3 separate regions of the Homo sapiens genome follow, and all the other regions are linked to region 2. Evidence: promoter capture Hi-C in 16 types of primary human blood cells and fetal thymus (Javierre and others, 2016). All regions are on one chromosome and are shown on one strand. The core of a region is centred on a gene start or on the middle of the fragment in contact, and the rest is flanking DNA. Distances in the headings are between cores, read along the strand shown. Region 1 holds the start of MTDH (metadherin). Region 2 overlaps PKHD1L1 (PKHD1 like 1). Region 3 holds the start of PLEKHF2 (pleckstrin homology and FYVE domain containing 2).

Region 1 (2,700 bases), core at 159-2,658, about 12 Mb after region 2:
CGCCACAGAGTGTGCAACAGACTCGTTCGTTGAACTCGCCTTAGCTCTTTCTCACAGGACCATACACCTCAAAGCGTATTAGGTAACCGACCCCCTCTTGCCTTGCTCCCGTTCCGGCCTCTGTTGGCCACATTTGCCAGAACAAGAATGGGCAACCATTTCCCTTTAACAGTCCCAACTAAAATGGAAGCGCGTCTAGACCTGGACACCTTTAATCCTGTGTAAGCCCCAGAATTTCTAGGTCACCGCACTTCTTCCACTGCCTACTGTCTCAATGTGACTTGAGATAGACATCTGTCTTCCGAGCGCAGTCTTTATACAACTTCCTAACACCACCTTAAGGTCCCATTACGCTCCACATGCAGCCTACTCTGCAGGCCTCAAGGAAGGATGCTGTGCTTATTCTAGCGGTGACGGTTCCCAAAGATGGCTTGACCTCTGGGCGCCTATCTGAACGGACCCCCAGACCTCCTAACTTCCTTCCTCGAAACTGGGCTTCCCCACTCGTCCTATACTTCCTGAGTTCCCCCCATTCCCCAAATAACATGACCACCTATCACCTCCTCCTCCACTTGGGAGTGCTGCCTCTCGGCTTTCGACTAAGCACTCTTTTCCTTCCCGGCTGGGGCGCGGCCTCCCCCAAGCTCGAGGGTCTCCACGCCCGCCCTTCGCCCGTTCTCTACTGCCGCTCATCCCATACTCACTTTGGGCTTCTCGGACAGTTTCTTCCGGTTCTTCTTCTTCTGTTCCTCGCTCCGGAGATTCTTCAGCAAGGCCAGGTCGTCGGGGGCCGCGGCCGGCACGGCCGCCGCCTCCTCCCGCTTGCGGGGCGGGCTCCTCCGCTTTTTGCGGGCGCCGGCGCAAGCCGCGGCCCAGCCGTAGCCCAGCAGAAACAGCAGCAGCAGCCCGAGCGCGCCAGTGCCCACCAGGATCACCCAGCCGGGGTACCGTTTCGGCTCCAGCCCCAGGTCGAGGCCCAGCTCGGTGCGCAGAAAGCCTAGGCCGACCGAGAGCATTTCCCGCAGCCGGGCCGAGCCCTCCTCGGCCTGCTGGGCCAGCTCGTCCTGCCAGCTCCGTGCAGCCATCTTCCCTCCCGTCAGAGGGACTCGCAGGATGACGCCGGGGCGCGGAGACGCAGTGGAATAGTCGAGGGAAGCGAGGAAGGGCCGGGCCGGGTAACCTCAGGCCGAGCGCATCGCGGCCGTCCCTCGCGCCGGAGCCGGGGATCGGCCGCTGCCACCGCGGGGAGGGCGGAGGGGTCTCCCAGGTTCCCCGCTGTCAGCCTCACTCCGCCGCCGCCAGGAGACCCGGGAGGCGGGAGGGAGTGTCTCCAGTGGCGGCCGCTAAGCGGCGTCTCGGCGCCAGCGCCAGGCCCCGCTGTCCTCCCTCGGCGGAACAATGGCGGCTTGGGCCGCGATCCACGCCGCGCGCGGGGACGACCGTGGGTCACGTGGGCGCCAGTGGGCGGGGCGTGGGCGTCACGTGGGGGCGGGCGGGGTCGGGTGGGGCAAAGGCGTGTCAGGGAAGGTTGGCGGTGGTCGGTTCGGGCCTGGTTAAGACGCGGCGTTGGGGACCCGTTACTGTAGACCAGAAGCTGGGAGGGGTTAATTGGTGGACGCCTTCGCGGGGTGGCTGGTGGCGCAGAGTTAGGAGACGTGGCGCAACGAATGAGTACAGAGGAGGGGCTCCGTGCAAGGCGGGGGCGGGCGGGGGGCGGGTAGGGCTGCAGCGCTAGGAACCGGGTCACCGGGTCTAGGTCAAAGTCGCCCTGGCAGGTATAGGGCTCTTCATGCCTTTTTCTGGAGTGTTATTGAGGTGGAATCGCTTTTTCTCCCTGGTGGCGCCAGTTGGATCCTTCCAGAATGAGCTCAACGGAGTCTGACGCCGAACACTGTTCTTCCGGGACCTAGGTTTAGTTCACAAATTGGGTATTTCTCTCCAGGGTGTTTCTCTCCAGGGCAACTAATACACTGCGTGCCTACCAGTTGCCAGCCTGGCGAGGGCACGTTTGCGTCGTTTGGCTCATTCACTCTTGCTCTCTGTTGTTAGTCCCCAGAATTCAAAAGTTGGAAAGCCCGTGGGCGGCACTATTCTTTTCCTACTAATTTGTAGCTTTAATAACACATAAGGGGAAGCACATTAGATTGTATTTACTTATGGAGGGAGCTTTCTCGTTACGTTTTATTTTAAGCTTTTCTACAACACTGCAAAAGGGGTTTGCAAAAATTCCATTTTTATATGCTATGTTGACCATCTCTGGGATGCAGCTATAGAAGGAAACGAACTGCCTTTTCAAATTTTTTTTTTTTGAGACAAGAGTCTCGCTCTGTCGCCCGGGCTGGAGTGCAGTGGCACTATCTCCGCTCACTGCAAGGTCCGCCTCCTGGGTTCAAGCCATTCTCCTGCCTCAGCCTCCCGAGCAGCTGGGACTATAGGCACCCACCACCACGCCCGGCTAATTTTTTGTATTTTTAGTAGAGACGGGGTTTCACCGTGTTAGCCAGGATGGTCTTGATCTCCTGACCTCGTGATCCGCCCACCTCAGCCTCCCAAAGTGCTGGGATTACAGGCGTGAGCCACCACGCCAGGCCTTCAGGTTTTAATTATAAGGGAAATGCTTGAAGGCTGCCTTAGGGTTTTAAGATTATATTTTGCTATAAGGAAACTCTGTATTTTATCGGTAAATGATCATTAGCGTGT
Region 2 (2,700 bases), core at 97-2,596:
GTGCTCTGGAATGGTTCTGTGTAAAGTTGGGTAAAATTATTTAATCTGTTCACCTCAATTTCCTCATCAGTAAAATGGCCATAATAGTGCCTACTTCATGCAGTAGTAATGCTTGCAAAGCTCTCTTAGCACAGAGCCTGGCACATAGCAAACATTCATAGATAACAGTTGTTGCTGCAGCTACTACTACTACTGCATTACTATTGCATTACTACAGTATCATTTCCGGTAATTGCATTTCCCAAAGGCCATGCAACCCCTTTCAGTCCCTTAAACACCTGCTCTAACTTTAATCTCTAGAATTCTAATGCCTAAATTTCAATATAAAATTTCTAAATTTTTTTTGGATTTAAAAAATCGAGTTATCTAGCTGGGCACGGTAACTCATGCCTGTAATCTCAGCACTTTGGGAGGCCGAGGCAGGAGGAACGCTTGAGCCCAGGAATTTAAGACCAGCCCAGGCAACGGGCGAAACTCCGTTTCTACAAATAATTTAAAAATTAGCCAGGTTTGGTGGCGCATGCCTGTAGTCCCAGCTACTCAGAAGGCTGAGGTGGGAAGAATCACCTGAGCCTGGGAGGTCGAGACTACAGTGAGCCATGATTGGGCCCTGCACTCCAGCCTGGGAGACAGAGCAGGACCCTGACTCAAAAAAAAAAAAAAAAAAAATCCAAAATAACCTATATTCGGATATAAACGTGTTTAAATTTTTTTTCTTAAAGAGTTGATTGCTTTAGACAATTTATTATGCCCAAGGATATTTTCTTCTTTTTCCTGATTCTTCAGTTTTCTTTATTAAATTTGCCATTTCCAAATGAAACAAAACGAAATGTATATACTTTTCCAGAAACAGCTAGTTACTGAGTACTTGTTTCCCAACACAATAGCAAAACAGAAAACAAAGCTCGCTAAAGACTGCAAATTTAAAATTTACTTTAGTAATACCTATAAAATAATATTTTAAAATCATCTTTACTTGTTAAATAGTAAGCCCATAATTGGGATCACAAGTCAATAATTTGGGATTGGGTTTAGGGACCACCTCTTGGGAACAGGGAACTTTAAGTCCTGTCCTCTCCCCAAAGCTTGTGTGGGACGGGGGTAGGAAACCACCAGATGTCAAATGGGAGGAACATAAGGGATAGAACCTGGCATATGAATTTCTTTTACTCAATGGAATATAGTAAATTCTGTCTGCTCTGTGTCCAAACCATTTTGCTCACTTTAACGCTTCTGATCAGCCTCTGCCCAATTACCAGCTTGATTTATTCACACTATCAACCTCCAGCCCACCACTTACTCTCCCCTTTCAAAGCCTACATAGGCTTTGTTCTGACTTCTCCAGCTGGGGCTAACTCTGGCCTTGTCACCTGACCTGGCCCAGGAGGTAGGAGCAGACTGCAAACACAGCCCTCTGCTTCCAGATCTTTCCCAACCCAGTTCCCTGGCTTTTCATCAAAGGGTGGGTTTTTTTTCCCTCAAACACAATTTTAGACCTGCTGTTCTGACTTGGACTTTAATGGCTTTTTATTAATGAGCAGCTGTTCACAGTTGAATACAAGATCATAAAGTCACATTCATTTCTTGATCAAGTAAAACAAAGCTTTGCCGCACATAGAGTGACATCTTTGAGCAGATACATTTGAAAGCATAGGATTTTCTGATGAGAATTTTAATGAATTGTTTTATTAATCTTCCTACTGGAGAATTTTACTTGCTTTCAAAATAATAAACATTAATATTCTGGAAAATTATAACTTCTTTTTTAATACTCAAAATCACCATATACTAGTTAGGGTCAATTGCCTAATAGAGAAATCAAACAGTCTGAAGCAGATTTTTTATTTCTTTTCTATTAAATGAAAATTAACTTTCTATGAAGCATTTAAATAAATTTTTCCTCATAATTGTTATTACAATTAGCAGTAACTTTTATTGCTAAATACAGGAAGATTCAAAATTTAGTAACAATTTAGAGTTAACCAGTTTTCTTCAGAAGGGGCCTGGTTAGAAATCAAGAAAAATAATACATATATTTTAGTAGAAATAAATTCAAATGAAAAGATGAGGTGAATTCTCATTTTGTGTTCAGTGGTGAGGTTCAGCCACATCATACTTCTGGCTAATGTCCACATCGTTATTAGATTTATGACAGAGTTCAGCTATATTATGAATTAAGTAGAGTTGATGGGAACAGCATCTGGCAGTCTAAGACCTTTTGTTATTTCTAACAGTAAATGTATTGAAATTCATACAACCAACATAAAACAGTAGTTTGTAAATCTATCTTGTACATGGATTGAGAAAGTAGAAATAAAACAACATGAAACAATGTGAGACTCATTCATTGAGCTACAGCATGATGGACATCGTGACTTTGACCTTGAACAACTTTAAGCCTCAGTTTTCTCATCTGCAAAATTAGGTTAGTAATTCCTGCTTTACGGATTTATTTTGCAAATTAAATATCATACCATATGTGGAAATGTGTTGGAAACACAGCAATAAAATCGGTGAAACCTTTGAAGCAGGCAGATTTGTTATCTTCAAGATCAGTACAATCCCCTTTAGCTCACAACATGGAATAGTGCTTCCAAGAAATAGAGGTGAATTTTATGTCATCAGCAACCAGAAGTAGACATGTCTACTAGCAATATATTAACAAAGGGAAACAGGGAGGGACAGCCAGAAGTCAACCCT
Region 3 (2,700 bases), core at 184-2,683, about 14 Mb after region 2:
TAGATTCATTTACTGAGGCTGAATATTTTCTTCTGAAGCTTAGTCACTATACTAGTTTTATTTAGAGGCCGATTACGTGTGCTTTCCAAATAAATAGCTTAATACCATTCATTCCCCGTGTGGTCGGGACCCAAAGAGATTATAATGAAGCCTTCGTTAATACTGAATTAACGTGAAGACCCCACGAGCTGCCAGAGTATTTAAAAAAAGTAAATGCTCAAAACGCGGTAGGCATTCACCCTTAAGAAACTAAAGGGAGGGGAAAAAAACTTCAAACTGTCAAGATCACTTCTTATTCTTAAGAGAACACATGCCTTTAAGACTCTCAAAGTTTCTGTCTAAATCTTTCTTTAATGAGTCTCTTCAGCAACGTACTACACAACACGACAAAGAAGGCATTTATCAACAACGCGTTTTGTGAGTCTATGAATTACCGAGGAGGGCTTAGGTGTCTGTAACCTTCATACCCACTTCCACCGCACACTCAAGTTATTGCTGGAATGTACGGAGAGCACACAAGGCTATTCAAGCAACACCGGCAGCGCGCTCTCGGCCTTCAATCACATTTTTAAAAAGAAAAATAAATTCGTCAAAGGATCATAAAACTTGAAAAGGCTCCAAATAAATAAACCATCGCTTCTATCAGAGCAAGTTCTGCGGGGCCATTTTCGTCTCCCAAGTGACATACAAATATGTAGTTCAGGTCATAAGGTCCCCGACACGCAGACCCTGCAAACTTTTCGGCCAGAAATTTGTCGCGACCCTGAGACGCCCCCGGCCGTGTCCAGGACCCCCGTCCTCAGGCCCCACAACTTCTCGCCCGGCCTCGGGGCTCCTTCCCGCGTCCGCCGGCCCCCGCCCCGCAGACCCGTGGACCGGACCCTACCCGGCGGCCCCCGTCCCCCCGCGGCGGCGGCGGCGTCCTACGGGCGGGCGCGGCTCGCTCCCGGGCTGGCGGGACGGCGGCGGCAACTGGCCCGCGGGCCGGCCCCGGCGCGAGGGGAGCGGCCGGGAGCGCCCCGTTTCTCACAGACCCCAACATGGCGTCGGCCGCCACCGCCCGCGACGACGACACCTCCCGGCGCTGCGACGGCTCCGGGACCGCGGGAGGAAGCGCCCGGAAAGTTTCGCGTCTCCCCTCCCGGCCCGTCAGGAGCCGGCGGACCACCCACCCGGGCTTCACCTACCCCGACGGCCGCGGGCGGCGGCGGCGGCGACAGCGAAGGCGAAGGTCCGATCCTCCTGGTCGCGGACGCAGGGCGCGGACTCTGCCCGTTCCCCGCCGGGGCCTTCCAGGGTGTGTGCTGTCCGCAGCCCCGCGCAGCCGGCGCGATCCAGACGCGGTGGGCGGGCTGGCCGCCAGCGCAGCCGCTCGCAGGTGACTCCCCCGCCCCTCCAGTCGAACCCGACAACGGCTGCCTGGGCTGGCCTCTCCCCTGCGCGCGCACGGGCGCGCCCCCGTCCACACTCCGGGCGCGAGCGCGCGGGCACGAGCACACCCACACCCCTCGCTCCCCGCCCTTTCTTGCCAGTTCCCTCGCCCCGCCCCTCGCGCCCCTCGCGACGCGCTCTAGGGGCGGGGCCTTTGGCGGAGGCCACACCCACTCAGGCCGGCCGCGGGCGGAGCTTGTCCATGTGTGAGGTCGGGACGCGCTCCCGCGACGCGTTGAGGTGCACGTGAGGCGCCTTACCTGACTTTCCTGACTCCGACCAGCCCTTAGAAAGTATTGCTCAACTGTCTACGAAGTTCTTAGGGAGACTGGAATAATAGAAGGAAGACACCTCCCCACCCACAACAGGCCTCCCCGGGGAACTGAAGAACGAGAAAGGCAGGCTTTGGATCTAAATGCCCAAAGGCATCGGTACTGGCATTTGCTGCTCCCATTTAGCACAGCAATCCTTTCCGTCACACTTTCCCTTTGCTTTACCTAAAATCCCTCCTCTTGAAACCAAGGGAACTGCGGCGACACACACATACCCTACGTGCTCCACCCAGCCCTTTCTTTTAAATGCATACTTTAGAATTCTGGTCTTCCCAAAACTTTGACGACACAAAACCCCATCAGCCTACTTCACATACCTAGAAACTGTAATTATTGCATAGTATATAAGGTTAAATGTGCCCTAATTGATCTGATAGCTAAGCGCTCTGATGGGTTCGTAGAGAGGTAACGAAGTTGCTTAGGGTAGACTAGGGATGGGGGCGAAGTAGGGAGAACAGCATACTTATTTTAAACAAAGTGTGTGTGGTGTGTAGGAGGAAATTGGGTTTTGGTAAATTTTATATTTCTTATTCATCTATTACTTCAGTAAGTTGTTTTAACCTGTGTTTGATTGCTGTTGAATTAGAGTCACTACCAGCCAAGCTGCACGTGGATGAGCACCTAGGGATGAGAGCAGACTTGGGTTCCGCCCTGCTCTTCCACCTGGGATCTTCCTCCTCCAGGCTTGTTGCCTCCTATCCTCCCCTATTTCAATAGAGTTTGTCTCTGAAACAAACAAGTCTTTTTTTAAATTAATAATTAGAACAAAATTGGCAAAGATGAACTTTTTTTAAATGGGGAAAATTGTATGATCACACACACACAATCTTTCGTGTGTTAGAGTTGTCTCTAGATGAGTACAGATGTCACCAGGACGCTTGTCCGTACCATCACTCTACCTCATTCACCTCTACGTGCACAGCAATATCTATCAGTG

What was found. Contacts are between HindIII fragments. The CHiCAGO score rates a contact against its expected background, and 5 or more counts as called.
Region 1: a contact is called between the fragment with the promoter of MTDH here and a fragment that was not itself captured in region 2, in 2 of 17 cell types (fetal thymus and naive CD8 T cells). The highest score is 6.6, in fetal thymus.
Region 3: the fragment with the promoter of PLEKHF2 here is called in contact with a fragment that was not itself captured in region 2 in 1 of 17 cell types (non-activated CD4 T cells); the score reaches 6.6 in non-activated CD4 T cells.

Annotation. Positions count from the first base shown.
Region 1 is chr8:97,642,892-97,645,591 of GRCh38, reverse strand. MTDH (metadherin) reads right to left here and starts at 1,408. Exons shown (of 12, transcript NM_178812.4): 1 at 705-1,408. The coding sequence starts at 1,085. RefSeq lists silencers at 279-447, 731-800, 1,071-1,530, 1,711-1,820 and enhancers at 1-577, 578-1,558. The HindIII fragment of the contact is 3,502 bases long and covers 1-2,193 here.
Region 2 is chr8:109,536,017-109,538,716 of GRCh38, reverse strand. PKHD1L1 (PKHD1 like 1) reads right to left here. Exons shown (of 78, transcript NM_177531.6): 78 at 1,510-2,700. Among named protein-coding and RNA genes, the nearest start is that of EBAG9UORF, 2.4 kb to the left of the region's middle. The HindIII fragment of the contact is 518 bases long and covers 1,088-1,605 here.
Region 3 is chr8:95,132,518-95,135,217 of GRCh38, reverse strand. PLEKHF2 (pleckstrin homology and FYVE domain containing 2) reads right to left here and starts at 1,433. Exons shown (of 2, transcript NM_024613.4): 1 at 1,188-1,433. RefSeq lists silencers at 872-1,031, 1,052-1,691. The HindIII fragment of the contact is 9,547 bases long and covers 41-2,700 here.